7 separate regions of the Homo sapiens genome follow, and regions 2, 3, 4, 5, 6 and 7 are each linked to region 1. The links are contacts of gene promoters, found by promoter capture Hi-C in human tissues and cell types (Jung and others, 2019). All regions are on one chromosome and are shown on one strand. Each heading gives the region's core, a stretch centred on a gene start or on the middle of the fragment in contact. The rest is flanking DNA. Distances are from core to core; before and after follow the strand shown. Region 1 holds the start of BIK (BCL2 interacting killer). Region 2 overlaps POLDIP3 (DNA polymerase delta interacting protein 3). Region 3 has its middle 15 kb from the start of CYB5R3. Region 4 holds the start of A4GALT (alpha 1,4-galactosyltransferase (P1PK blood group)). Region 5 has its middle 29 kb from the start of A4GALT. Region 6 has its middle 51 kb from the start of A4GALT. Region 7 overlaps ARFGAP3 (ARF GTPase activating protein 3).

Region 1 (4,100 bases), core at 952-3,451:
ATTACAAATGTGAGCCACCATGCCCAGCCTAATGCTCCTTTTTTTGAGACAGGGTCTCACTCTGTCTCCCAGGCTAGAGTGCAGTGGCATGATCAGGGTTCACTGCAGCCTCAACCCCTCCAAGCTCAGGTAGGCCTCTGAACTCAGCCTCCTGCGTAGCTAGGACCAGAGGCACATGCCACCATGCCCGGTTAATTTTTTGTATTTTTGGTAGAGACAGGGTTTTACCATGTTACCCAGTCTGGTCTAGCCCAGTCTAGTCTCCTGAGCTCAAGCAATCCTCCTGCCTCAGCCTCCCAAAGTGCTAGGATTACAGGCACGAGTCAAATGTGTGAGAATCTTAGTCTTAACATCCTTAAGACAATTAAAAAAAAAAAAAGGGCCAGGCATAGGGGCTCACGTCTGTAATCCCAGCACCTTGGGAGGCTGAGGCAGGAGTATTTAAACACTCAAGCCGGGCGGGGTGGGTCACACCTGTAATCCCAGCACTTTGGGAGGCTGAGGCGGGTGGATCGCCTGAGGTCAGGAGTTCGAGACTAGCTTGGCCAACATGGTGAAACCCCATCTCTACTAAAAATACAAAAAATTAGCTGGGCCTCGTGGTAGGCGCCTGTAATCCCAGCTACTAGGAGGCTGAGGCAGGAGAACCGTTTGAACCCAGGAGGCCGAGGTTGCAGTTAGCCGAGACGGCGCCATTGCACTCCAGCCTGGGCAACAAGAGCGAAGCTCTGTTTCAAAAAAAAACAAAAAGAAACAAAAAACACCCAAACTGTGCCATTCCTGAGAACTTATTCCAAAGGCGTGCCCAAATTAAGTAGAAATCGGGGTGAGTCTTAACTCCAGGGAGGCTACTAACTTGAGAGGGGCTTTCACCTGGCCAGAAACCTCAGGGATACATTTTGCAGAGTGAACAGAACAAACTGAGGTTCAGAGAGATGGAGTGGCCCTTCCGAGGCCACAGGGCTGGAGAGTGGAAAGAGGTTTTGGCTTGGGTTCCATAAAGGGCCCTTGGCTTCTAGCTAGACAACCCTGGCATTTCTGTGCCTCCTGGGACTGAAATCTCTGTTTCTCCACCTGGAAGATGAGGCCTCCTGCTCCCAGGGGCAGACAGATGTTAAGAACTTCCCGGCGCTAGTGCCCACCAGACTGCGCTCCTCCTAATGCGGGGACATGAGGCTGACACCAATGCTCCCTGGGAAGCTCGGGCTCCCAGACCACAGTAAACACTGCGTTAAAACAGCAACAAAAATGTTACAATAGTAAGAGCTACAACAGTAACATCAACAACCACGTCCTACCCCACGAGTGGCTCATTCTAGCAAAATTGACAATGAAGGGCTTGAAAGCGATCGCATTTAGGAGGCCAGAGCCCAGACGACGACCAGCTCCGAACCCCACAAGCCTTGTCGTGACCGCGCCCCGCAGGCGGGGGGCCCCCTCGCGGGTCACCCGCAGGGGCGCACCTCCAATTTACCAAACAAGGTCGCATGCCCCAGCCGGGCTCTAGTCCCCGCCCAGTCTGGGGCGCACCTGTGCAGGGCGCGTGGGCAAGCGAGGGCGGGCGGCTGCGCGCCGCTCCGTGTGCACGTTCCTGTTCCGGACTTTCTGGGCGTCCCGTTACGAAGCCTTTCCTCGGCCCTTCCTCAGGTGCGCAGCGCCTCCGGGAGCCGGTCCCGGCGGCACCGGGCACGACGCCATCTTCCCTCTTTTAAGGGCACCGGGGCTGTGCGGCCGCGGCCGTGGGCTGGCGTTGCCGCGCTACGGTCTGGCCGGGTCCGCACGACCCCAGAGTTCGGAGCCGGGTGCCCGGAAGCCGCACTGGAGGACTGTGCGGCGGCGATGGGGCGTCCAGCCGTCGCGGCGAGACGCAGAGGGACCACCCCATTGCACAGGCGCGGAGACTGAGGCCCGCAGGGGCCGCGCCTGGCACGATCGCCCGTCGGGGACCTGGAGCCCCGGACAGAGAGGGTACGTTTCGGAGCCGGAGTCCCGAGACGTCGCCCCGCCAGCGACTTGCTGGAGCGGTAAAACCTGGGCACGGCTCCCCACACTTCCAGCCGCTCGGCACCCGGGCCGCGGCCTGGGCGCTAACCGCCGGGCTCGAGCTGGGCGGAGCAGCGGGCGGCAGCAGGGTCGGGGGCACTCACCTGGCGGCGGCGATGCTGGCAGCGTCTGTAAGCCACCCGGGAGGCTTCGTGTCTGCGGCCCGGCTGCCGGCGCGGGACCTAATAGGCCCGGGCGCCCCGCCCCTCCCGCCCCGCCCGGGTCCCGCCCCTCCCCGGGAGCGGCCTCTCGCACCCCGAGCGCGGAATCCCGGACTGGGGTCTGAATGGCATTGGCAACAGAACCGCTACAAGTGCAGCCCGTTGGCTTGTTTACAGCCTCTCTGCCCCCTGCTGTTCTGCAAGCTTGTTTTGTCCCGTGCGTCGCTGTTTCCCCTGCGCCCAGCACGGGCGTGCACTCAGGGGTTTCCATCAATATCGGGGGGATCGATCCATTGACAGAATCTGGCCCTTTACACGGATGGCCTCCGTTCGAGCTCAAAGTACTCCTCGGTGCTTTTTTTCACGATCATTTTACCCACGTGGAAACCGAGGCTCCAAGAGGACGAAATGACTTAAATGACAGCGTGAAGCCAGCGTTCAAAGACGTGTGCTCCTTAGGCTGGCAGCTTTGGGATTTAGGTGTTTTAAAGCCTATTTCACAAATATGAAAACCGAGGTTCACATTTGGTTAGCAGCAGCATCCAGTGATCCATACCCGAAGCCAGGGGGCTGCCCCTCCACTGCCGCCCGTCCGCAGCCTTCCAGCTGCATGACACACCCACTGCCTTCCCCCTCCCGTCGGGGCTCCGGGTCCGCGAGAGGCGGGCGGGACTGGGAGGGATTGGGGGCAGGGGGCTCACGTGCAGACCTGGTGAGACGGACCCCACAGCGCCTGGCGGGGCGAACAGAGAAATCAGAAAGCTTCCAGGCGGGGTGGGCGGGTGGGCAGCCTGCTACGCGGGGATGGGTAGGACCTAACTCCAGCCCTGGGGTATATTGGGGGTGGGAGAAGGCAGAGCGCTCCTGGAATAACAAAGTAACAATTGTCCTGGGCACGGCAAAGCTTGTTTACTTCTGTCTTGATCCCCTCAGAGATTAGGGGAGGGGCAGGGACAGGGGTTCCCCTCCCCCAGCTCTGTCGTTTGCTACCTGTTGGGTACCCTCACTCTGTTCTTCCCACCTCTAGGGTAATTACTTCCCCTTCAATGTTCTCATCTGTGAAATGGACAACAGCACCTACCAAGAGCTGGGCTGTTGGGAGGAACAGAGGAGGTAAAGTGTGATAAAGTCTTCAGAGCCCCTCCCGCCTTCCGGGCTCTGGACCTTCTTTGCTTTTGTGGGGTTTTTTTGTTTGTTTTTGTTTTTGTTTTTTTGAGACAGAGTCTAGCCCTGTTGCCCAGGCTGGAGTGCAGTGGCACAATCTTGGCTCACTGCAACGTCTGTCTCCCAGGTTGAAGCAATCCTCCCGCCTCAGCCCCCCTAGTAGCTGGATTACAGGCGTGTGCCACCATGCCCGGCTAGTTTTTGTATTTTTAGTAGAGACGGGGTTTTGCCATATTGGCCAGGCTGGTCTTGAACTCCTGACACCAGGTGATCCACCGGCCTCGGGCTCCCAAAGTGCTGGGATTACAGGCGTGAGCCACCACTCCCGGCCCTGTAGTCTTTTCTTCTAGGGCCTCCAAACTACATCAACCCCTACAAAGCAGCTCGCCCTGACTGTGGCTAACAGCCACAGAGTGCCTTACAGTCAGGAGCAGGGAACCCTTCATAATGGGGGCTTCCCTCTGAATGCATTTTGCAGATGAAAAAATTGAGACTCAGGGAGGTAAAGCAATGACACGGGGTCTCATGGGTCCGAAAGACCTGATATATGTGAGATGCTTGCAGAGGGGTCTTAAGGCTGGAGGCACAGTGCCAGGTATGTAGGAGATGTTCAGTAAACATTAGCAGAAAAGATGGAGAAAGAAGGACCGTTTGGGGACACTGGATGATTCAAGGGCAGAGTGGGTGCAAATACAGTACTTATTTACTTTGCAAAATCCCAAGACAATATGC
Region 2 (4,100 bases), core at 447-2,946, 500 kb after region 1:
CAGCTCACTCCAACCTCTGCCTCCTGGGCTTAAGCAGTCTTCCTGCCTCAGCCTACCAGGTAGCTGGGACCACAGGCATATGCCATCATGCCTGGCTAATTATTTTTGTATTTTCTGTAGAGACAAGGTCTCGCCATGTTGCCCAGGCTGGTTTCGAACTCCTGGACTCAAGCAGTCCTCCTGCCTCTGCCTCACAAAGTGCTGGGGTTACAGGTGTGAGCCACTGTGCCCAGCAGTTTCTTCCTTTAGATATGAGGGCATCCCCAGTTAAGTCAGTTGACATGTCCGCTTTTGTTAGTTCGATGAGTTTAACCCTCAGCGGATAGCTTTCTGTCAGCTGCCTCCAAGCAGTTCAGTGTGGCAGCCTTGAATGTGCTGGAGGCTGGAGTTGAGCAGCTCTCTGGGCCAGACGCCTCATCTGGGGAGTCCTTGGAGCTGGAAGTGGGAGGTTGTTGGGGGACAGGGTGGATTGTAAACTTTGCAGTTCAGCCCAGGACTCTGGTCCTGGTACTGACTGCTTGTTTCCTTGTTGAAATAAGATAAAGGAAATAAAGACCTAAACACAAAAGGGAGGAAATGAGTTATTACATAACTCTAGGGAACGAATTATGTTTTAAAATGAAACATCTGCACAAGACTCTTGGGTAAGGGGATAGTATTTTATTTTATTTATTTATTTTTGAGACAGAGTTTTGCTCTTGCTGCCCAGGCTGGAGTGCAATGGCGCGATCTCAGCTCACCGAAACCTCCACCTCCTGGATTCAAACGATTCTCCTGCCTCAGCCTCCTGAGTAGCTGGGACTACAGGCATGGGCCACTACGCCCGGCTAATTTTTTGTATTTTTAGTAGAGACAGGGTTTCACCATGTTGGCCAGGCTGGTCTCAAACTCCTGACCTCAAGTGATCCGCCCATCTCAGCCTCCCAAAGTGCTTGGGATTACAGGCGTGAGCCACCTCGCCCAGCAGGGGATAGTATTTTAGTGTCTTGTTTTTCTTTGTGTCTCTTAAACACCTAATTCAGAGTTGACCCTCAGTCATAGTTAGAATTAAGCTGTTTTCTCTCTATAAAAATGACCTAAACACACACCTAAACGAACACCCCCTAACCCAGAAGCTTTTTTTGTTTGTTTTTATAAGACGGAATCTTGCTCTGTCACCCAGGCTGGAGTGCAGTGGTGCGATCTTGGCTCATGGCAACCTCTGCCTCCCATAACCCAGAGGATTTTAAACCCATGGGTTAAAATCTGCTTTATAATAATCCAGGGCCCCACTTCATGGGCCTGAATCTTTTGGACTGGACATCTGTCCAGAATGGGCTGTAGCCCTGCCCTCCCCAGACAGAGCCAGGAGGGTGAAATATTCCTATAGCCCAGACAGACCCTCCCTGGTCATCACACCTATGCCAGGTTCCCGTAGGGGGTATAGAGGAGAGAATTTGGGGTCCAGGGAACGTTTGCCTTCTCACCTGCCAGCAGCGCTCTTGCCAGGACCTCGCGGAATACCTGGTGAAGCCCTGGAAGCAGTTGCAGAGCTGTAGTTTCGGTGCGATGGAGGTGGGGCATTACGAGACTCAGTCAAAACCTTCCTCCTTCGCCCTCCCAAACATTTACTGAGGATAAAAGTGCAGGATGTGTTTTGGGAACGTCAGTAGTCACTGCAGTGGGGAGTAAGGCTGCAGCCATAAGCTGGAGCCAGAGCCGAGGCCCCCCCAGGGGTTGGGCTTTGTAAAGGAGCCCCCAGCAGTTCTAGAAGCGGGAGGGTAACATAATTGAGTCTGTGTTTTAGAGACCTACCCCTGGCAGGAGTGTTGATTTGAAAAATTTCCGATGACTAATGCCTGCCTGAAACCAGTACTGCTGCCTGCTGGGATGAATAGCTGTCTTTTCATGCAGGAAGAGCAGCTGTGATTATAAAAAGCCTGAACACTGAAGCCCCCTCAAGCTGTTCACGAAAGAAGTTGAAAGCACTGGTGGAACCAGGGAACTGAGTGCATCAGATTGAGGGAAATAGCTTACTCCCTCCCACCGTGAGGAGCTCCTACTACATCCTCAACTACCGTTAACTCCCACCCCTAAATGTGCCTTTTAGGCTGTTCAAATAGATAAAAATGCCAGCACAAAGCATCTTGGTGGTCCTTCCTGCCAGGCAGGCATTGTGGTATGCGAGTTCTCAGTGCGTGCACCACCCGCTCGCCTCGCTGCTTGTGCTCACCCTTTGGTCGCTAGAGAGTGCTCCGTATCCCTGGGCATGACCGGAGTCCTAAGATTTCTTCAGCCTGCGGACTGTTTATCCTTCCTTTATATATATGTATAAATTTTTAAGGGTTTAACAACATATTGAAACTGAAATACCAGACAATAATGATAAGGAAGATTGTTTCTTTTTGTTTTGGTGGTGGTGGTTTTTTTTTGTTTTGTTTTGTTTTGATTTTTGAGACAGGGTCTTGTTCTGTCTCCCAGGCTGGAGTCCAGTGGTGTGATCTTGGCTCACTGCAGCCTGGACCTCCTGGGCTTAGTTGATCCTCCTGCCTTGGCCTTCTGAGTAGCTGGGACTACAGATGTGCATCATCACTTGCAGCTAATTTTTTTTTGGGGGGGGGGGTAAGGTTATAGATTAACAGCATCCCAAGGCAGAAGAATTTTTCTTAGTACAGAACAAAATGAAGTCTCCCACGTCTACTTCTTTCTACACAGACACAGTAACAATCTGATCTCTCTTTTCCCCACATTTCCCCCTTTTCTATTCGACAAAACCGCCATCGTCTTCATGGCCCGTTCTCAATGAGCTGTTGGGTACACCTCCCAGACGGGGTGGCGGCCGGGCAGAGGGGCTCCTCACTTCCCAGACGGGGTGGTGGCTGGGTGGAGGCGCCCCCCACCTCCCGAACAGGGCGGCTGGCTGTGCGGGGGCTGCCCCCCACCTCCCTCCCAGACGGGGCGGCTGCCGGGCGGAGACGCTCCTCACTTCCCAGACGGGGCGGCTGCTGGGCGGAGGGGCTCCTCACTTCCCAGACGGGGTGGCCGGGCAGAGAAGCTCCTCACCTCCCAGACGGGGTGGCGGTCGGGCAGAGACACTCCTCAGTTCCCAGATGGGGTCGCGGCCGGGCAGAGGCGCTCCTCACATCCCAGACGGGGCAGCGGGGCAGAGGCTCTCCCCACATCTCAGACGATGGACGGCCGGGCCGAGACGCTCCTCACTTCCTAGATGGGATGGCGGCCGGGAAGAGGCGCTCCTCACTTCCCAGACTGGACGGCCGGGCAGAGGGGCTCCTCACATCCCAGACGATGGGCGGCCAGGCAGAGACGCTCCTCACTTCCCAGACGGGGTGGCAGCCGGGCAGAGGCTGCAATCTCGGCACTTTGGGAGGCCAAGGCAGGCGGCTGGGAGGTGGAGGTTGTAGCGAGCCGAGATCACTCCACTGCATTCCAGCCTGGGCAACGAGCACTGATTGAGCGAGACTCCGTCTGCAATCCCGGCACCTCGGGAGGCCGAGGCAGGCAGATCACTTGCGGTCGGGAGCTGGAGACCAGCCCGGCCAACACAGCGAAACCCCGTCTCCACCAAAAAATACAAAAACCAGTCAGGCATGGCGGTGCGCGCCTGCAATCCCAGGCACTCGGCAGGCTGAGGCAGGAGAATCAGGCAGGGAGGCTGCAGTGAGCCGAGATGGCGGCAGTACAGTCCAGCCTCGGCTCGGCATCAGAGGGAAACTGGGGAGAGGGGGAGGGGGAGGGAATTTTTTTTGTATCTTTTGTAGAGACAGGGTTTTGCCATGTTGCCCAGGCTGGTTTCGAACACCTGGGCTCAAGCGATCTGCCCGCCTTGGCCTCCCAAAGTGTTGGGATTACAGGCATGAGCTACTGCTCCTGGTGTTTTTTATTTTTTAGAAGTTTTTTTCTTAACTCTTCCAGCTCTGCTGTTTACTCTTGACCCATGCTTATTTAATTGATGCTTGAACCAGGTACAGTGAAGTTCAAGTCCATTCCTCACCCCTTAGTAGCTCTTGGGATAGTTAATCTCCTTGGTTCTGAGTTTCCTCATTTATAAGATGTGAACAATAACCTGATTCACGGGGTTGTAACATTTAAAGGACGTCTAA
Region 3 (4,100 bases), core at 990-3,489, 450 kb after region 1:
AGCAATCCTCCCGCCTCAGCCTCCCAAAGTGCTAGGATTACGGGCGTGAGTCACTGCACCCCACCTAATTTCAGTTTTTGTTTGTTTGTTCCTTTTTTTTTTTTTTTTTGAGACCGAGTCTCGCTCTGTCGCCCAGGCTAGAGTGCAGTGGCGCGATCTCTGCTCACTGCATCCTCTGCCTCCCGGGTTCAAGCAATTCTCCTGCCTCAGCCTCCCAAGCAGCTGAGACAACAGGTGTGCACCACCATGCCTGGCTAATTTTTGTATTTTTAGTAGAGATGGGGTTTCACCATGTTGGCTAGACTGGTCTCGAACTCCTGACCTCAAGTGATCCACCTGCCTCAGTCTCCCAAAGTGCTGGGATTACAGGCGTGAGCCACTCTGCCTGGCCCTAATTTCATTTTTTAAGCAATGAGGTTAGTTTCTTTTATTATAAACTTAGCCTCGCAGTAAAAGATTTTAAAAAATATCTTGGCAGTTTTTGCGCCTAGGACAGAAACTGGCATGGTGCTTATCCACACTGACATCTGAATAAATGCGGTCTGAGACCTGTTCTTCTTCTATTTCTCAAGTTGCTGCCTGCAAACGGACAAGAATCTGTTACCTTGAAGAGAGCAAGAGCAGAGCATGTGACTCCAGCAAAAAGTAGGGCATCTGGGGAGCTGAGATGACTGAAAGCCACCAGGAAGGTACTTTCCAGGCAGTTAAATTTTTTCTTCTGGTATCCCCACTCTCCTCCATCAGCCACAGATTGCTCCCTAGAAGAGGTGATCTGTGATGCCAAGTCAGTGATGCTCAGGGCTGGGTACTATGATCTTCCTCCAGGTGTCAAGGAACTTGCAGGAAATCGTCAGGCCAATTCGGGCTGCCACGACGAAGCAAGTGAGGCTCATAAAAGTAGTCACCCAGCCAAGATTTGAACTGTGGTCTCTCTGAGGATAAACTCATGCTCTGTCAACTACATCAGGGGGTTTCAAGCTTTCTCCCAAAGGCCTTGCCCTGTGAATACCAGGAAACCCATAAAAGTCCCAGATCTCAGATGAGGATAGAAATACATGCCATCATTTGCATGTTACAATGCAAAACCTGTGGTACTCACCTGCTTCAGCAAGCAGGATGGTGTGTGGATGCCCTCAGACCACTCCAGTCTGACCTGGGTACGTCGGAGCAGCTGTGCTGGACCTCCACCCTACAGGCACTTTTGCAGTGTCATTCATTCAACCATTATTTATTGAGGGCCACCATGCTCCGGGCCCTGGCATGGTGGACTGTACGCAGGGAGGCAGCCTGGGCACAGGGAGGCAGCCTGTGTACAGGGAGGCAGCCTGGGTAGAGGGCGGCAGCCAGTGAGGCCAGACTGCCTGCATCTGCAGCACGTTCACCTGTGTGATGCTGAGTGTGTGAATTACTGGTCTGTTTTCTCTTCTGTGGGATGGCAGTAACATAGGCTTTCTCCTCCCAGGGTGGCCAGGAGAAATGGATGAGTTAAGGCACGTACACAGTGCCAGTCATATAGCAAGCAGTCTCATTTCTTTTTTCTTTTTCTTTTTTTTTTGAGACAGGGTCTGGCTCTGTCACCCAGACTGGAGTGCAGAGGTGCGATCTTGGCTCACTGCAACCTCCGCCTCCCAGGCTCAAGCCATTCTCCCACCTCAGCTTCCCACGTAGCTGGGACTACAGGCATACACCACCGTGCCCGGTTAGTTTTTGTATTTTTTTGTAGAGATGGGGTTTTACCATGTTACCCAGGCTGGTCTTGAGCTCCTGGGCTCAAGGGATCCACCTGCCTCAGCCTCCCAAAGTGCTGGGATTACAGGCGTGAGCCACTGCCCCAGCCTCTCATTTCTTTATTACTATTATTTGATAACTGATGGATGGATTTAATTACAAAATTGTAAGATACACAGGAAAGGCCATGGTTAAGCCCATTTTACAGATGAGAACAATTGAGGCTTGGGCCATTGAAAAAGGTTGCTGGGAATAGAGTAGGTAGAATTATTCCCACTTTATAGACAAGTAGACTGAAGCTCAGGGAGTTAAGTCACCAGCTCAAGGTCAGTATCAGTGTCAGAGCCCAGGCCCAGGCCCCTCCGGCCTCAGTAACAGCCCCCTCTTTGAACTCTGAACTAATGGGGCAGTGTTTCACAGAAGGCACAGGTGGCCTCAGTGACGGGAAAGGCCCAGGAGGACAGGTGGCCTGAGATGGCTGAGGTCCTGCAGCAGCGTGTACTCCTCCAGCTGAATCGGCCTGGGCCTCACCTCCTTGGTCCTCACCTGCTCAGACTCTGCAGGAAGCTCCCTGGGAAACGGTTCAACCCAGAGTTTGTGCTCAGAAAACCCATCTTCCCACCGCCACTGGGCTCAGCACCTAGGCCTGGCTCCATGGCTGACAGCGATTTATTTATTTATTTACTTATTCATTTGAGACAGAGTCTCGCTCTGTCAGCCAGGCTGGAGTGCAGTGGCACAATCTCAGCTCACTGCAACCTCCGCCTCCTGAGCTCAAGCGATTCTCCTGCCTCTTCCTCCTGAAAGCTGGGATTACAAGCATGTGCCACCAAGCCCAGCTAATTTTTGTATTTTTAGTAGAGATGGGGTTTCACCATGTTGGCCAGGCTGGTCTCGAACTCCTGACCTCAGGTAATCCGCCCACCTTGGCCTCCCAGAGTGCTGGGATTACAGGCATGAGCCACTGCGCCTGGCATTAATAGGGATTTAAACGCGTAGACCCCCAACACCCCTTCCTCACCCAGCAGCTCCCAGAGCAGCCCCTAGCTCCTGGCTGGATTAGAGGCACCTGGCACTGTGCCTGAAATCAACACCTCCTTTGGGTTTTGGGTTCTCATTAGCCAGAACTTTCTCATGAAATAAAAATGATAACCTGAGGGAAAACTGTTAAAAGTTTGTAATTATAGAAGGGGAGGAGCTCCTGTCTTTCTTTTGTTTTGTTTTGTTTTGTTTTGTTTTTTGAGACGGAGTCTCAGAGTCTCGCTCTGTCACCTGGCTGAAGTGCAGTGGCATGATCTCTGTCGACTGCAACCTCCGCCTTCAGGGTTCAAGCGATTCTCCTGCCTCAGCCTCCCAAGTAGCTGGGACTACAGGCATGCGCCACCACGCCCAGTTAATTTTTGTAGTTTTAGTAGAGCCAGGGTTTCACCATGTTGGCCAGGATGGTCTCGATCTCTTGACCTCGTGATCTGCCTGCCCCAGCCTCCCAAAGTGCTGGGATTACAGGCGTGAGCCACCGAGCCCGGCCAAAAGGACGCAGACTCTGTTTTGAAGGAGGAGGTGGAAAGGGATGGAAGAAACTTCCAGAGCGTGCCGTTTTCTTTGTGACAGGCTCTGTCCTCGGCAGGGGCAGGCGTGACCTCTCTGAGCCCATGAGCGGGAACTGTTTTTGCCCTGGACACCCTGGGATGGGCCCTGCCATGTTGCCCAGGCTGGACTTGAACTCCTGAGCATCCCCTGCCCCGCTGCCCTCTCGGCCTCCATTCGGGAGCTTCACATCCCCCTCCCCTCACCCCCACGAGTCCTGGGGGGCCAGCTGGGAGCTCTGCGGGGAGTAACCCCACGAGGGCAAGGCAGGGGAGGGCGCCGCCCAGCGCCCCGTGGGGCTTCCGCCGCCTCGAGGCAGACCCGGATCCAGAGGGCGCCTGGACAAGGTAGGGCCCCCATCCCGCCCCGGCTCCGCGTGCCCTCACAAGAATCACCCGTCTCCGACCGTCACCTCCTCCCGCTCCCGGGCCTCCCCGGCAGCCCCCACGACCGTCCACCCCGGCCCGCCCGGCCCGGGCTCCCGCTCTCTCGGCCGCTCTCCGCGGAGCCCCGCAGCCCAAGGGGCAGCACCTATCCCGGGACAGCGGCCTCTCTTCCCCACCGAGGCGTCTGCAGGGCTCCCCGTAGCGGCGCGGGGCTCGGGGACACGGACTCGAAGGAACCTGAACACCTCCAGAGCGTGGAGGTTGTGGGGGATGAGCCCCAAGAGGCGCACCCCTCCCAGGCTGCCGGGACCCAAGGTGGGCACGGGCTGGGTCCGAGGAAGGGGTAGAGGAGGCAGGATTTGGGGCTCGGCTGGAGCAGAGCAGCGGCAGAACCCCCAG
Region 4 (4,100 bases), core at 418-2,917, 390 kb after region 1:
TTACAAGTGGGCCAGGTGCCGTGGCTCACATCTGTAATCACCACACTGTGGGAGGCTGAGGCGGGTGAATCACTTGAGGTCAGGAGTTCAAGACCAGCCTGGCCAACATGGTGAAACCCTGTCTCTACTAAAAATACAAAAATTAGCCATGGTTGTGCATGCCTGTAGTCCCAGCTACTCAGGAGGCTGAGGCAGGAGAATCACTTGAAACCAGGAGACAGAGGTTTCAGTGAGCCGAGATGGTGTCACTGCACTCCAGCCTAGGTAACAGAGTGAGTCTCTTCTCAAAAAAAAAAAAAAAAAAAAAAAAAAATGAGTATTACCAGTGGAGAAAGGGTCCGCATTCATTCTTTTTTTTTTTTTTTTTTTTTTTTTTTTTGAGACAGAGTCTGGCTCTTGTCACCCAGGCTGGAGTGCAGTGGCATGATCTAGGCTCACTGCAACCTCCACCTCCTGGGTTCAAGTGAGCATGTCCAGCTAATTTTTGTATTTTGTAGAGATGGAGTTTCACCATGTTGGCCAGGCTGGTCTTGAACTTCTGATCTCAGGTGACCTGCTTGCTTTGGCCTCCCAAAGTGCTGGGATTACAGGCGTGAGTGCTTGCCTGGCCTCTTGTTTCCGTTTTAAGATGGGAGAAGTAACAGCCTGTGATGGGAATGACCCAGGGAGAATGGAGAGAGGGCAGGGTTTCGGGATCAGTGTTGGCGTGAAGGGTCGGGATCTTCTGGAGGGGGTGGTCGTGGCCAGGAGCTGGACGGGTTCAGCCCGGTCCCAAGAGGGAAGGGACTGGGTGCTACCTCAGCGGGTGGGTGGGGGAGCTGGTGGGAATTTTCTACTGATTCCTTCATTCGAAGTGTATTTATTGGGCACCCATTGAGTGCCAGGCTCTTTCTCAGGGCTAGGATAGAGGTTCCATTTTCTCAGTGGCTTGGGCACTGGGTCATCAGCTGAGTGAGAGGATGGGCGTCAGCACTCAAGAAGTCACCCAATGGTTTCATTTTTTGCAGTCTTTGTTGTCCCAGAGGAGTAAGAACTAAAAGCACCAGGACTGTGACATGCTGGAAACATGGCATGTTCCAAAGAGAATAAAATACAGTTTTATGATACACGAATTGTGTGTGATACATTCCAATTTCTCACATTGAACAAATTACCAATAGCAATATGTGTGAAGATGGGGCGAGGTGAGAGTGAGGAGGAGGAGTAGAGAAAGGACGGGGCGGCGTTAAGGATACAGCAAATAACTGGAATTCCGCAAACACTGGGGTGATGCAGGCAATGCCCTTAGCACGGTCCCGGCAGGAGGCGGTGGGATCAGGCCGACCCGGGTCCCAGGGGTGACAGCGTCCCTTCTCCACTGCAGAATATCGAGGTACTCAACCCTCTGAACCTCAGTTTTCTCATCAGTTCAATGGGGAAAACGGGATGGTAACCCGTAATACTGGCGGCGCGGAGGCCGGGGAGCGCTCCCTACCTGTTGGCCGGCGGACTGGGGACTGTCCGCACCCGCCCCGGGGAGCAGCGAGGGCGCGCGGGCGGGGTCGCGGGGACCCCGCAAGGGCTCTGGGGACCGGGACCCGCAGGGTAGGTCGGGACGGGCGGGGCGGGGCGGCCTGACCCCGCCCCGGGCCGGAGGGGCGGTGCTGCCTCCCGCCGGGCCCCAGGCACTGCCCTCCGGCCGCCGCGCCGCCCGCCCGCCGGGGCCCCGCTGTCCGCCGCCCGCCGCCGCTGGAGCTAGAGGTACGAGGGGCCGCGCCGATGTTGCGGGGGACGGGGGCTCCAGGGGGATCCTGCGGCTCGCAGTGGGGAGGAGGCGCCTCGGGAAGGCAGGGGCAGGGGCGGAGGGGCTGGGCCGCCGCCCTAGCCCGGGCCACCTGTTCTGGAGGCGACATTTGTGCGCGCACGAACCCCGCGCGGCGGTCCCGGCCACCGCCTCCACCCCAACTGCGCCCCGAAGTGGAGCGCGGCGGCGGGACCCGGAGCCCCGGCCCTCGCGGGCAGGACGCGCCTGGCTCCGGAGCCCTCGAGGGCAGCCCCACCCGGTTGGGTCCCGGGGCTGGAGAGAGGGCGTCGGGGAGAAGCCGGGTTCGAGGCAGGCTCTGCCCGGCCACCGTGGGTGAGTCGCGCTCCTCCGTCCGGGGGAAGCCTGGGCGTCGGGCGGTGCTCGCCCCGGAGCGGATGCGACCGGGGACGGGGATGGAGAGCGGCCGGCAGGAGGGGGCTCTGCCGGGCTGGCAGCGTCGGCGCCGGCCTTAGGGAGGGTGAGGATTTGGACCTGCCCAGAAGCGGGAAGGGCCCTCCCCGTGCGGGAAACGGCCTGGGTACGAGCTGGGCACGGGGCGAGCCGGTTGGAGTCGCCCGGCCTCCGCGCTCGCCTCGGATCCGCAGGCGCCCCTCCCTCCTCTCCAGCTGGGGAAGGTTGAGGACTGAGCGGGAGCGGAACTGGGCTTGGGAGAGGATCTGCCGGGGCACCTGGTCCCAGCGCCCATCCCGTTTCACTGCCAGGGCGAGTCCCCTTCCCTCAGTTTCATCACCTGTCATCCGGAGGGACAAGTTCCCACCTGGATAGTCTCGGCTGAGCCTCTGGCCCTGAGTGGGTTAAAGCGCCATTTCCCCTGCACCCACCTTTCCCTCACGACACCCTCTCTGCGGCTTCCTCCCCTCCGCCAACGTCGAGTGATTGTTCCGCGAAGGCCCCTTGGGGTCACGTACCCTGCACTCAGCAAATAACCCCGAGCACCTGGTGGGTCTCAGGCCAGGTCTGGCCTTCCCGTTCCCGCCACCAGCTGCCCAAAGACTTCCCCTTTGTCACCTCCTCCCAAAGAATGAGGGAGCCACCCTGCCCAGGGTCCCATAGCAGAGTGCGGATGGAGCCAGGCCTCCCTCAAGATTTCCCACAGCCCTCTTCCAGCCTCAAACCTTCTCCAGGACCCGAAACCCTGCTACACTGTGTTTCCATAGCTGCAACCCCCCAAAAGAGGGTCCCCAAATCAAAGGAATACAAAGGAAAACAAAATAGAAAGGAAAAGAAAGGAAGAGGAGAGATGGAATCCTCTCTGTCATTAGTTTTCTGTTTGTTTGTTTTTTAGGGTCTCCCTCTGTCACCCAGGCTGGAATGCTGTGGCAGCTCACTGTAGTCTCAAACTGCTAGGCTCAAGCGATCCTCCCACCCCAGCTTCCCTAGTGGCTGAGACTGCAGGCACACACCACTACACCCAATGTTGTCATTAGTTTTTCTCTCAAACATTTTTCTAATGCCTTGGGTGCCTGTCGTTTCTTGTCTGCTAGGACAGCTCAGTATTAGAGGATAAACTCCAAAATGGACAGCCATCTACAAAATATGTTTTGTTTCCTTGTACTAATTGAAGCCCTCTAGCTGCTAGGTTAATGGGTCCATTAATTTCCAGTTCGTGTGATGGGCCCTGGGACCCCAGTGTGGAGCAGGATTGGCAGAATCTCCAGGTGGTTTGTGTGGAACACCAGGAGGTTGTGAACTACCACATCAGCCCCAGCTAGCAACTCCCAAGCCCACCTGGCCACGGGGCCACTGGGTTCAGACCTCCAAGGATGCAGTTCAGCTGGGGATGCAGGTCCCGGAAGGTGGTGGCAGGTGGACGGCCTCCACCACCAAGCCAGCCATCTGAGTTCTGAAGTGCACCTCCTCTCACTCTCCCCAGCTGCCTCCTTCTTTGGGGACCTGCTAGGCGTGCTCACAAACTCCTGTTGATCACCCTGCATTTTCATTGGCTCACCGCATGCTTCCCTCCAGATTGGAAGCTCCTGGAGGGAAGGACCCTTGTCCAGATCCCAGAGCCTAGTGCCAGGCCTGGCACCTAGCAGGTGCTTCCTGAATATTGTTTGAATGAATTAACCGAAAGAAGTAGGAAAAACAATTCCTGTTTGCATACTTGAAGACAACTATTGTTAACATTTGCCTTTTTTTTTGCCAGACCTTTAAAAACACGTTTTTCCAGCCGGGCGAGGTGGCTCACGCCTGTAATCCCAGCACTTTGGGAGGCTGAGGCGGGTGGATCACTTGAAGTCAGGAGTTCGAGACCAGCCTGGCCAACTTGGTGAAACCCCCCATCTCCACTAAAAAT
Region 5 (4,100 bases), core at 814-3,313, 360 kb after region 1:
GGACACGGCTGGGACAGGCCCCCACCCCTCGTCACCTGGCCTTGCACTGTGTTTCAGCATCTGGGGTGGGGGTGTTCCATGGGCAGATACGAAGTCTCACAGTTTCCTAACAGGAAACGTGGGGCGTGGAGGCCTTCTTCGGGTCCCAGTCCACTGGGGTTAAGAAGAAGGGCTTGGGGCCAGGCACAGTAGTTCATGCTTGTAATCCCAGCACTTTGGGAGGCCAAGGCGGGCAGATCACTTGAGGTCAGGAGTTCAAGACCAGCCTGACCAACATGGTGAAACCATGTCTCTACTAAAATTACAAAAGAAATTAGCCAGGCGTGGCCAGGCGCGGTGGCTCATGCCTGTAATACCAGCACTTTGGGAGGCAGAGGCAGGCGGATCACAAGGTCAGGAGTTCAAGACCAGCACGGCCAACATGGTGAAACCCCATCTCTGTTAAAAATACAAAAATCAGCAGGGCGTAGCCGGGCACGGTGGCTCACGCCTGTAATCCCAGCACTTTGGGAAGCCGAGGCGGGTGGATCACTTGAGGTCAGGGGTTCGAGACCAGCCTGGCCAACATGGTGAAACTGACTCTACTAAAAATACAAAAATTAGCTGGGCATGGTGTCATGCGCCTGTAATCCCAGCACTTTGGGAGGCCTAGGCGGGCAGATCACCTGAGTTCAGGAGTTCGAGACCAGCCTGGCCAACATGGTGAAACCCCGTTTCTATTAAAAGATGAAAATTAGGGCTCTTGGAGGGGAATCAAACACAGGGAGTAGCTCTCCCTCTCCCTGTCCCTGTCCCTGTCCCTCTCCCTCTCCTCATGGTCTCCCTCTCCCCATGGTCTCCCTCTCCCTCTCTTTCCACGGTCTCCCTCTCATGCCGAGCCGAAGCTGGACTATACTGCTGCCATCTCGGCTCACTGCAACCTCCCTGCCTGATTCTCCTGCCTCAGCCTGCGGAGTGCCTGCAATTGCAGGCGCGCGCCACCACGCCTGACTGGTTTTCGTATTTTTTTGGTGGAGACGGGGTTTCGCTGTGTTGGCCGGGCTGGTCTCCAGCTCCTAACCGCGAGTGATCTGCCAGCCTCGGCCTCCCGAGGTGCCGGGTTTGCAGACGGAGTCTGGTTCACTCAGTGCTCAGTGGCGCCCAGGCTGGAGTACAGTGGCGTGATCTCGGCTCGCTACAACCTCCACCTCCCAGCCGCCTGCCTTGGCCTCCCAAAGTGCCGAGATTGCAGCCTCTGCCCGGCCGCCACCCCGTCTGGGAAGTGAGGAGCGTCTCTGCCTGGCCGCCCATCGTCTGGGATGTGAGGAGCCCCTCTGCCTGGCTGCCCAGTCTGGAAAGTGAGGAGCGTCTCTGCCCAGCCGCCATCCCATCTAGGAAGTGAGGAGCGCCTCTTCCCGGCCGCCGTCACATCTAGGAAGTGAGGAGCGTCTCTGCCCGGCCGCCCCGTCTGAGAAGTGAGGAGCCCCTCCGCCCGGCAGCCGCCCCGTCCGGGAGGGAGGTGGGGGGGTCAGCCCCCCGCCCGGCCAGCCGCCCCGTCTGGGAGGTGAGGGGCGCCTCTGCCCGGCCGCCCCTGCTGGGAGGTGAGGAGCCCCTCTGCCCGGCCACCACCCCGTCTGGGAGGTGTGCCCAACAGCTCATTGAGAGCGGGCCAGGATGACAATGGCGGCTTTGTGGAATGGAGCGGGGGGAAAGGTGGGGAAAAGATTGAGGAATCGGATGGTTGCCGTGTCTGTGTAGAGGGAGGTAGACATGGGAGACTTTTCATTTTGTTCTGTACTAAGAAAAATTCTTCTGCCTTGGGATCCTGTTGATCTGTGACCTTACCCCCGACCCTGTGCTCTCTGAAACATGTGCTGTGTCCACTCAGAGTTAAATGGATTAAGGGCGGTGCAAGATGTGCTTTGTTAAACAGATGCTTGAAGGCAGCATGCTCGTTAGGAGTCATCACCACTCCCTAATCTCAAGTACCCAGGGACACAAACACTGCGGAAGGCCGCAGGGTCCTCTGCCTAGGAAAACCAGAGACCTTTGTTCACTTGTTTATCTGCTGACCTTCCCTCCACTATTGTCCTTTGACCCTGCCAAATCCCCCTCTGTGAGAAACACCCAAGAATGATCAATAAAAATAAATAAATAAATAAATAAATAAATAAAAAAGAAAATTAGCTGGGCGTGGTGTTGTGCACCTATAATCTCAGCTACTCGGGAGGGTGAGGCAGGAGAATCACTTGAACCTGGGAGGCACAGGTTGCAGTGAGCCGAGTTTGTGCCACTGCACTCCAGCCTGGGTGACAGAGTGAGACTCCATAAAAAAAAAAAAAAAAAACAACTCTGTGAGGCCCACACTGTAAGGAAGCACAGAAGTAGCAAAGGCTTTGCTGAGTATTGGGAACCTACCCTGGGCAACAAGCTCAGACCTGCCTGGGAAGGAGCTGTGCCCAGCAATGATGCAATGATGAAATGATGCTTTTTTTTTTTTTGAAAGGCATGTGCCACCATGCCTGGCTAATTTTGTATTTTTAGTAGAGACGTGGTTTCACCATGTTGGCCAGGCTGGTCTCGAACTCCTAACCTCAAGTGATCCACCTGCCTCGGCCTCCCAAAATGCTGTTATTACAGGCATGAGCCACCGCGCCCAACCAGTGATGCTTATTTTTTCTGCCAGTGGTGAGGCTGCGAACACAGGGACCATGGGAGTGGGAGCAGCCAGCCTGAGGACGGACAGTAGTGCAGGGGCACCCCCACCTGGCATGGGAGGTTAAGAGCCAGCCACCAGGCCTACATGGCTGGGGAGGGTGGATCCCTAGCTGCCAGGAGAGGGTGGTGCCACTGGGGAGGCCACAGAATGTCCTCTTCGAGTCCCTGAGCCTGCATCCTGCAGGCTGCAAAGCGCAGTTGCCTGGAGTAGCTGGTGCCGACTGGGATAATAACCAAGCGCTTCTCATTGCTGTGGGGGCATCTCTCTTTCCCATCCCAACAAAGAGGCCAGGCCTTCGGCTCGCTTGTCTCTGGGAAAGCAGACAGAGCGGGCAACCAGATCACAGCCTCCCTGGCCAGCACCCACACACCCTGGAGTGGCAGAAACTGGGGCTCCCTCAGAGGATTAGGCTGGGGCAAGCAGGAGGGCAGTGGGTTAGAGGCAGGTGCAGGCGGAGGGGAGGGATTGGCAGCCTCCCCACCTAAGCCTCGGAAGGGATGAGGCCCCTCCTAGCCTCAGATGGGAGGACCCTGGGAATGTAGCTGCAGGGGAGCCCAGGATAGCCAAACCCTGGAGATAGGGGTCCCAGGGAAACTCCTTATAAAATTTATAAAATTAATCAGGGGCTCGGTGCAATGGCTCATACCTGTCATCCCAGCACTTTGGGAGGCTGAGGCAGGCAAATCACTTGAGGTTAGGAGTTTGAGACCAGCCTGGTCAACATGGCAAAACCCTGTCTCTACTAAAAACACAAAAATTAGCTGGGTGTGGTGATGGGCGCCTGTAATTGCAGCTACTCGGGAGGCTGAGGAAGGAGAATCGCTGGAACCAAGAGGCAGAGGTTGCAGTGAGCTGAGATTGCGGCACTGCACTCCAGCCTGGGCGACAAGAGCCAGATTCCATCTCAAAAAAAAAAAAAAAAAGTAATCAGGGAAGAGGAGGGAAAAACGGAAACAAGCCAAGCTTGCAAGCTACTCAGCATGAGCTCTGAGAGCAGCCTGCTCTCTGACCAGCTGCCTCACAGCCATGCAGTGCCTGTGGCGGCCTCAGAATCACACAGACCCTGTCGCAGGATGCTAACACCCCTTAACTGCTCTGTAGACAGCCACTTGTATGTCATGAAACGTTCACTTTTGCATTTGAGATATTCTTTCAGGGCCTGCATCCGGATGAAACTACTGACGCCAGCTAGTCTGAAAGATCCCACAAAGAACTGACTCACAAAAAAAAAAAAAAAAAAGCCATTTCCACATCCTGACGAATTCATCTCCCTGCCCCCACCAATCAATGACTCCAGTTTTCCAACCCCTTGACTTCTTTATAGGATCCCCGTAAAAGCCCCAGCCCGGAACTCCTCTGGAGGTGGATTTGAGGGTCCCCTCCCAGTTCCTTGCTCTGTGCT
Region 6 (4,100 bases), core at 1,601-4,100, 340 kb after region 1:
CTCATTCAACATATATGAGTGCTTACCTGTGCCAGAAATTTAAAAATTTCTAGTCTTTTTTTAACAATCTTCCATTAGCAATTTCATATTCTAAATAGCAAGTTCAGAATTTTATGATGCCTGAATTAGAAACAAATACAGAGAGTATTAAACCTTGGATATTTGTGGAGACAAATATGTCTGATGAATGACCTTGGAGGCCCAGAAAAGAGAATGGCTAGAACTGGGGATTGCAGCAGGGTCAGCAGCCGCAATAGCCACGCCCAAGGGCTGCAGAGTGAGGCAGCGGCAGAAGCAGGTGCCTGCTGGGCTTGGGCTGCCCGCCCTCCCCAGGGTCCCCCCAACCTCCGTGCTTCCTGCCTCGTGGTGTTGTGTCTGGGCAGACTTGTCTTCACCACACCGCATCAGCAGGAGTGTGTAGTGGACACAGACGGTGTCTGCTCATGTCTGCCTGGTTCCCCGCCGCTGCCAGGCAATGCCAGCAGGAGTAGATAAGGGTGTGACAGAGGCTGGGGCCAGCCCTACAGGGGGTTGAGGGAACAGGGGACAGGCACGGCTGCCCTGGGATTCCCTCCCAGAGGAGGGGCTGCTCTCCAGACCTCGTCCTTCCACAGAGATCCGAGGTCTCTGCCTGGGTCGGGCCATCGGAGACTCTGTTGTATCAACTGTGATGTCATGTTCTCCAGATCCTTGTCGGGCCAGGCTCAGGGTCTAGGCTCAGGGACGGAGGCTGCAGGGACGGACAGCAGGGCCACATGAGGGCTTGGCGGTCCAGGAGGCCTTCTGAGGGCAGGGCCCTGGGGTTGCATTTTGGGGAGAGGCTGCCACAATAGAGCAGGAGGAGCGGGGATGGGGGTGGCAGCATGTGCAAAGGCACAGCACTGGGGGTAGGGCTGTTGTTTAGCCAGTTGGAGTACCCAGGAGATGAGATGAGAGGGGCAGGTGGGCCTCTGCTGATGGGCTGGGGGTGGAGGATCGGCTCAGCCAAGCGGGGAGCCTGGAGTTCTCCTACAATTGTAGGGCCCTGTGCCTACTCCCACCTCTGCTCCTCTTTCAGCCCCACCAAGGCCTCTCCAGGGGATCTCACAGGCTGCTCCCACTCACCCCATCCTCCTGTCCCATCTCTAGCCTTGGGTTGCCTGTGCCTGGAGAGGGGAGGAGAGGGGAGGGGAGGGGAAGAGAGATGAGGGGAGGGGAGGAGAAGAGAAGGAAGGGGAGAGGAGAGTAGAGGGGAGGGGAGGAAAAGAGAGGGGAGGGGAGGAGAAGGGAGGGGAGGGGAAGGGAGATGAGAGGAGGGGAAGGAAGGGAAGGGGAGGAGAGGGGAGTGGAGGGGAGGGGACATGAGAGGAGGGGAGAGGAAGGGAAGGGAGGGGAGGGGAGGGGAAGATGTGTAGGTCAGTCTCCGGGAGGGTAGGCTGCTGTGACAAGATCCCACAGACTGGGGCTTCAGCAACAGACTTTTATTTTCTCACAGTTCCAGAGGCTGAAGTCCAAGATGAAGGCGCCATCGCGGTTGGTTTCTGGTGAGGCCTCTTTTCCTGGCTTGTAGGTGGCCCCCCTCGCACATGGCCTTCCTCTGTGTGTGCAGAGGGGAAGGGAGAGCTCTCCGGTACCTGTTCCTCTTCCTGTGGAAGGGCCCTCCCCTGTGTCCTTCTAACACCTTATCGCCAATACAGTCACTCAGGGGATAGGAATATTGAAGATGGGGTTGGTGATGTCACAGTTCCATCTGTAGCAGTGTCCGTAGGAAATTCCCACACTGGGGCCGGGCACGGTGGCTCACACCTGTAATCCCAGCACTTTAGGAGGCTGGGGCAGGCGAATCGCTTGAGCCCAGGAGTTCAAGAACAGCCTGGGCAACATAGCGAGACCTTGTCTCTACAAAAAATGCAAACATTAGCTGGGCGTGGTGGCACATGCCTGTGGTCCCAGTTACGTGGGAGGCCGAGGTGGGAGAATCACTTGAGCCCAGGAAGGCAGAGGTTGCAGTGAGCTGTGATTGTGCCACTGCACTCCAGCCTGGGCAACAGAGCGAGACCCTGTCTCAGAAAAAGACATCAACAAACTTCCCACACTGGGAGAGCCTGCTCCAGGCTGGGGCCTGGACTCGACCGGTTGCTGTGTGGTCGTTCCGTCTTCCAGAAACCCTCCCAGCAGGTCATATTCCCATTTCACATGGAGGGTGAGTGAAAGGCAGCCCTAGGTGGCTCTCTCTAACTCCAAACGTATGAACGTGGGTTTCCCCAGCACCGTCCAACCCCAGGCCTCACTGGGACTCCTTCCCAAGCTTTCCATCTGATGCTTTTAGGGCCCAGCAGCCACAGGTGTCTCAGGGAGGATGCTGGGCCCAGTGCTGGACCCTGCCAGGCAGGCTCCCTCAGCCGTGGGGCGGGTGGCCGGTCCCATCTGGTGGGCCCATTCCCCCTGCCTGAGTGCACAGATGTGTGTGTGTGTGAGTTTAGTGTGTGTTCTTGGCCCATTCATCTTTCAGCTTTTGTGTTTTATTATGTAATCATTTTGCATGAGTGCTTAGTATATGAAAGATGTTAGTTAATATTTGTTAAACAAAACACATTTTGGATCTATCGATTAAAAAAGAAAAAGGTGATAACGACAATCCAAGGACCAGGTGGAAACCGGTGAAGGCTGGACTGAGGGCTCAGGCAGTGGTGCGGAAAAGGTACTTATTGTACTTCTGTTCTTGAGATGAAGCCAGTGAGGGCCAGGGGATGTTTCTGAACCTCTGCGCCAAGAGGAATCGGGTCAGCAAAGAGAGAGGAGTGGGAGACAGAGGTTCGTCTTACACACACAGCCTTTCCCAGGAACAAATTCTCTCTTAAAATGCAGCATTAGGAAATCACCTCAGAGCCGGGCGCAGTGGCTCACGCCTGTAACCCCAGCACTTTGGGAGGCCGAGGCAGGGGGGTCGCTTGAGCTCAGGAGTTTGAGACCAGCCTGGGCCACACAGCAAAACCCTGTCTCTAAAAATACAAAAATTAGCCAGGCATGGTGGTGGGTGCCTGTAATCTCAGCTACTCAGGAGGCTGAGGCACGAGAATCGCTTGAACCCGGGAGGTGGAGGTTGCAGTGAGCCGAGATCATACTCTAGCGTGGGTGACGGAGTGAAACTCCGTCTCAAAAAAATAAAGATAAAAATAAAAATTGCACCCCTCCCCAGCTGAGCATGGTAACTCATGTCTGTAATCCCAGCACTTTGGGAAGCCAAGGCAAGAGGATCTCTTAAGCCCAGAAGTCTAAGACCAGCCTGGGCAACATAGTAAGACCCCATCTCTACAAAAAACTGGGGAAAAAAAAATTAGCTGGGCATGAAAGTATGCACCTATAGTCCCAACTACTCGGGAGGCTGAAGCCAGAGGATCGCTTGAGCCTGGTAGGTCGAGACTGCAGTGAGCTGTGATCGTAACTCTGCACTCCAGCCTAGGCAAGAGGGCGAGACCCTGTCTCAAAAATAAATAATTGCGACCCTCCCCCACGCAGCTGCTGCTTGGCTCGGGAAGGAGCTGACTCTCCCCACTGATCCCGGAACGTCCCGCTCTGCGTGGTTACGTGGGCTCAGAGACCATTGTTTGCACTGCGTCCCGGGATGGATTTACACAGGACCACGTGCCTTCTGCTCCCTCCCACTCCCGTCCGCGTTCCCTGTTTGTGGTTCTTATCATTTTGCTCGCGTGAGTCATTGGTCTCGCCGAAAACAGGAGCACAGCGGAGGTCACGCCAGCTGCAGCCCAGCACGGACAGACGGATGGCGGCAGCCAGACATCAGGGGCTCCTCGGCTTCCCTCTGCCCGACACCTGTGCTGGTCCCGCCGGGTCGGCGGGGTCCTGCAGGGGCGCTGGGCAGAGAGGGTGCCGCCCAGCCGGGCTGAGAACCCACCTGTGCCCTGTGCCCTGTGCCCTGAGGCCTGCTCCTGGGCTGTGGGGGCCCCGTTCGCCCCCGCACCGGACATGACCTCTCCCACAAGCTCTCACTTCCTCTCCGCTGCCCTGTGGCTGTCCTCCTTGTCGCACGGTTGGCTGCCCTTGTCTACACCACGACGCCCTGCTTGGGAAGGCCCCTGTTTGTCCAGGCACCCAGGGCC
Region 7 (4,100 bases), core at 1,160-3,659, 310 kb after region 1:
TGGCCAGTGCCAGGCTGCAGGGGCGATGTGTTCCGCCTCCAGCACAAGCCTTAAGAGCTGTGCGCATGTTGCCATGTTTCTTTCCCTGTCATAGTAGGCAAGGAAGCTGGAATTAAGAGGTGGCCCCATGGGCTTGGACCGCAAGTGACTGTGATGCACAGAACCCCCTGCCCACCTGCACTGGGCACAGCAAACATCAGTTGTGGGTGGTTGTTAGCTCAGAGTCACCTGGCCTGTCCTGACCCATCCAGGGCATTTGCCCCAACCACAGACCACTGTGTAGCTCAGTGTCCCCTCTGTCTCAGAGAGGGGAGCAGCTGTCTTCTTCCTGGCTGCCCAAGCAGAAACCTGGGAAACATCCTTAATCCGCCTGCCTCTCAGCCTGCCTAGGCCAGTCAGTCAGTGTGCCTCTTGACACCTGCCTCCTGAGGACGCTCAGCCCGTTCCCTCCTGATCCCCACTGCCGCCTCCTCATGCTCAGGCACCGCCCCATGCACCTGGACCCCTGCAGCCACCTCCCAGCTGTCTACCTGAGTTTGCTCTGTGTCCCCTCCAGATGACACAGGTCACACTTTAGTGATGTTATCAGTTAATTGTCTGCTTTCCCCAGTAGGTGGTGAGCTGTGGAAAAGCAGGTCTGTAGCTGTGTCCTCAGTACACACTGTGGGTGTTCTGGGAAAAGATAGGGAGGAGAGATTCCCTGGGTCAAGGACGCTCTTCCTGAGCAGGTGGCTGGAACTGTCATTTCCTGGAGCTCATTGTGTAACCTGAGCACACTAGGGCTGTCTTTGACCATGGCCACCCGGCCCCTCCAGCCTGCCCAGGCAGCCCTCAGAGGAGACACAGCACCCCAGTCCCATCACTGTGTTGGAATTACACTCTGTCATTGGTGAAGGCCTACAAGATTTTAGACAGTCAGCTGGAGGTGGAGATGGGAGGACCTGCATCTGTGGTGGGCATGGGAACAGTGCTGGGGGCAAATGCAGTGTCTCTTCCAAGGGACACGTTGCAGGGTAACTTGTCAGTTCTGTTTTATTCTCAGAGAGGGACTTGACCAAGGCTTTCTGTTTTTGTTTTTGAGATGGGGTCTCGCTCTGTCACCCAGGCTGGAGTGGGGTGGCACAGTCTTGGCTCACTGCAACCTCCACCTCCCAGGTTCAAGTGATTCTCCTGCCTCAGCCTCCCAAGTAGCTAGGGTTACAGGTGTGTGCCACCATGCCCAGCTAATTTTTTGTATTTTTAGTAGAGATGGGGTTTCACCATGTTGGCCAGGCTGGTCTTGAACTCCTGACCTCAAGTGATCCTCCCACCTCAGCCTCCCAGAGTGCTGGGATTACAGGCGTGAGCCACTGCGTCTGGTGGGTTTCTGTTTTGTAAGGAGCAGGTGGTGTCATGTGGGGCTTAGGGAGTAGCTGGGCGTGGCTACTCCTGAGGACCTGCAGGGTTTGTGTTGAGCTCACTGAGCCCCTCCAGCGTCTTATTACAATTGTGACACAGAAGTTTATGAACCCCTGATTGTCAGCTCTAGGAGTGTGGTCAGACCTCCTTGATGTGTGATAACCCTGATGAACTTCACCCAGATTGGTAGCAATTATGGTGATGTTTACATCAGGGCAACCAAAACTTAAGCAACTAACACTTAACAAAACTAACAACTAACAAAACTTAGGGCCACTAACACCGGCCCTAGCAAAGAGGGTGGAAGTGTGAACTTCTGTACCTGGGAAGACTGGCAGTGGAGCTTGGCTTCTAAGTCACAGTCAGACAGCATCAGTGATGCATCTATTTGGCTCACCTCCTTGGGGGAGGTAACAAGCTTCCTCCATACCCCAAGCGAGTGGGAGGGGCAGTCGTAGTCACAGATGGCTGCTGCTTTGCTTTGTCCCTGCCAATAACCCCAGAGCAAGCAAATGGCTCTTCTCATTTGAGGATACATGAATCCCTGGGAAGGCTCTGATTGGTCAGGCCTGGGTCATGTGCCCATGCCTGTGGACAGGGTAGAAGGGAGAGGTGGTTCCTGGAGGAAGGGAGGAGTACTGTTACCAAAAGAGGGAGGAGGTGATGAGAAACAGGCCATCCGTGTTGGCCCATCTGCCTTTTGCTGGGTACTTACCTGCCAGGGCTATGTTAAGCACCTTGAGGAAATGGGCCCAGAGAGAGCAAGGAACTTCTCTAGAGGCACACAGCCTAGAAGTGACAGTGCCAGGATTTGAACTCATAGTGGTGTTAAGTCCCCCATACTACATTTTCTGTCGTGTGGATTCTCTCATGTGGATCATGGCAGGGCTGCCACTTCAGCCCGAGTCTCCATCCCACTGTTGGGCCCCTTGTGAGGCAGCAGGAGGGGAGAGATCCGGGTTCTCTGGAGCCGTTGAGCACTCTGGGTACTGGGTTTGCCGCAGCTGTGGCCAGGGCAGTGATGAGACAGTGTCTGCTGTGTGTGTGCAGGGAACTACAGCCTGTCCAGTGTGCTGCCCAACGCCCCCGACATGGCGCAGTTCAAGCAGGGAGTGAGATCGGTTGCTGGAAAACTCTCCGTCTTTGCTAATGGAGTCGTGACTTCAATTCAGGTCAGTGGAATGGGGCAGTGCTCACTGGCTATGACGGTAGGTTCAGCAGTTTGAAAATGAGACCTGCTTCAATCTTCAACTGCTGGAAAATTCAATTATATATTATTGGATCGATATGTTTGCTACACTATAACCCAGAACATTATGAAAACCAGAAATTATAATTTTATATTTAATATTTTCTAACGGATGACTCTAGGGGAATTGTTAGAGGAATTGTCATGACCATTGTCCAGTTTTTTTCCTAGATTGGAACAGAGAAGTATTAAGAAGAAAACTGAAATTATCTGTAATGCCACATCACAGGGATAACCTCTGTTAATATTTTGGTATATTTTTAGCTCTAGATTTCTAAGGATATTTTTCTATACGTAGATTAAAAAGATATACATATCTATCTTTTTAAAGTTAAAAAGGGATTATATTGTATAGAGGGTTTTATATCTTGCTTTTTCTCTGTGATGCTGGGAGCATTTCCTTGTAATGAAAAGTTTTCCTAAAACCACATTCTATTGAGTGAAAACATAAGCCAAGGATGGCGCATACTTGCGCATGAGAGTCGAGGCCATCTGTGACGATATGAGTGGCTCGTTTCTTTGCACCTTCTTGTTTACGTCAGGCTATTGAAGAAGGATTGTATTAATGTAAAACGCTGCTAAAGGAAGTAGGACTGAAACCGTGTGGACTCTGGTGCCTCCAAAGGAGATTCCTGGTCCCCAGGCAGATGCTGCTCTAGCTGCAGTTCAAGGAGGGCGTGGAGGTGCACCCATTCCGGAGAGTTCCCTCAGCCCCAGGACTCTGGATGTAGCCGTTTTCATGCTGTGAATAGCACAGTCTTCCCTTTCATGTGGCACTGAAGTTAAAATGCATAGAGCTCTTTCATGTCCCTTAGGTCAGCTAAGCCCACATCAGTGTCCAAATAGGTAACATCCCTATTTTATAGATGGTCATCCCCATTTTAGAGATGGCTCCCTTTTATATCCCCATTTTACAGGTGAAGGAATTGAGGCACAGAAGGTTAGGTCACTTCTGCAAGATGACCAGCTGAACCAAAATTTCAGGGCTTCAAACACCAAATGTGTTCCTTTGTCTTCCGTTTCCCACTTGCTTCCCAGAGGGCTCAGCAAGTTGCCTCTGGCCCACTGAGCATCCTCCCGCCCACTTTGCTCCCTGCCTCCTGATCCCAGGACTGTGGCCGTGGATGCCAGAGGCAGGATGTGAATCCTGTTGGGTTCTGAAGCCCACACCTACCCTCAGCCTTGAAGCTGCAGCAATGGCTGCTTCCAGATGAGCACACCCTCGGGGTGCAGCGTCCATGTCACATGCCTGACATGGGCTGCAGTGTCAATTTGGGTGATGCTGAATATTCAGGGCGTGGGAGTCAGGGATCGCTGCTGAATGGTCGTGAACTTCCATTTTGGTTCTCTCTTCAGGATCGCTACGGTTCTTAATACTGAAGTCATGATGTGTATTTCCTGGAGAAATTCCTCTTTAAATGAACAAGTAACCACATCTCAGGCGGCAGTGAAG

The links. The method cuts DNA at HindIII sites, captures the fragments that hold promoters and counts their contacts. A contact is called where the count stands out against the background at its distance.
Region 2: a fragment that was not itself captured here is called in contact with the fragment with the promoter of BIK in region 1 in 1 of the 25 tissues and cell types used here (spleen).
Region 3: a fragment that was not itself captured here is called in contact with the fragment with the promoter of BIK in region 1 in 1 of the 25 tissues and cell types used here (lymphoblastoid cells).
Region 4: the fragment with the promoter of A4GALT here is called in contact with the fragment with the promoter of BIK in region 1 in 2 of the 25 tissues and cell types used here (lymphoblastoid cells and mesenchymal stem cells).
Region 5: a contact is called between a fragment that was not itself captured here and the fragment with the promoter of BIK in region 1, in 3 of the 25 tissues and cell types used here (dorsolateral prefrontal cortex, pancreas and thymus).
Region 6: a fragment that was not itself captured here is called in contact with the fragment with the promoter of BIK in region 1 in 1 of the 25 tissues and cell types used here (H1 embryonic stem cells).
Region 7: a fragment that was not itself captured here is called in contact with the fragment with the promoter of BIK in region 1 in 1 of the 25 tissues and cell types used here (dorsolateral prefrontal cortex).

What each region holds. Positions count from the first base shown.
Region 1 is chr22:43,108,851-43,112,950 of GRCh38, reverse strand. It overlaps BIK (BCL2 interacting killer), which reads right to left and starts at 2,201. Exons shown (of 5, transcript NM_001197.5): 1 at 2,148-2,201. RefSeq lists silencers at 1,332-1,551, 2,082-2,251 and an enhancer at 1,576-2,134. The HindIII fragment of the contact is 22,290 bases long and covers 1-2,687 here.
Region 2 is chr22:42,606,756-42,610,855 of GRCh38, reverse strand. All of the region lies in intron 1 of POLDIP3 (DNA polymerase delta interacting protein 3), which reads left to right. It overlaps LOC124905127 (a long non-coding RNA gene), which reads left to right. Exons shown (of 2, transcript XR_007068118.1): 2 at 1,894-2,121. Among named protein-coding and RNA genes, the nearest start is that of POLDIP3, 6.1 kb to the left of the region's middle. The HindIII fragment of the contact is 5,591 bases long and covers 1-4,100 here.
Region 3 is chr22:42,662,238-42,666,337 of GRCh38, reverse strand. No RefSeq gene overlaps it. Among named protein-coding and RNA genes, the nearest start is that of CYB5R3, 15 kb to the right of the region's middle. RefSeq lists silencers at 3,592-3,871, 3,912-3,961, 4,092-4,100. The HindIII fragment of the contact is 5,947 bases long and covers 1-4,100 here.
Region 4 is chr22:42,718,437-42,722,536 of GRCh38, reverse strand. It overlaps A4GALT (alpha 1,4-galactosyltransferase (P1PK blood group)), which reads left to right and starts at 1,667. Exons shown (of 3, transcript NM_017436.7): 1 at 1,667-1,740. RefSeq lists silencers at 1,568-1,757, 1,788-2,017, 2,098-2,227. The HindIII fragment of the contact is 38,593 bases long and covers 1-4,100 here.
Region 5 is chr22:42,747,992-42,752,091 of GRCh38, reverse strand. No RefSeq gene overlaps it. Among named protein-coding and RNA genes, the nearest start is that of A4GALT, 29 kb to the right of the region's middle. RefSeq lists an enhancer at 2,958-3,519. The HindIII fragment of the contact is 7,860 bases long and covers 1-4,100 here.
Region 6 is chr22:42,769,723-42,773,822 of GRCh38, reverse strand. No RefSeq gene overlaps it. Among named protein-coding and RNA genes, the nearest start is that of A4GALT, 51 kb to the right of the region's middle. RefSeq lists an enhancer at 4,075-4,100 and a silencer at 4,057-4,100. The HindIII fragment of the contact is 5,875 bases long and covers 1-4,100 here.
Region 7 is chr22:42,797,509-42,801,608 of GRCh38, reverse strand. It overlaps ARFGAP3 (ARF GTPase activating protein 3), which reads left to right. Exons shown (of 16, transcript NM_014570.5): 15 at 2,449-2,570; 16 at 4,004-4,100. The coding sequence ends at 4,021. Among named protein-coding and RNA genes, the nearest start is that of ARFGAP3, 58 kb to the left of the region's middle. RefSeq lists an enhancer at 1,772-2,066. The HindIII fragment of the contact is 4,920 bases long and covers 1-4,100 here.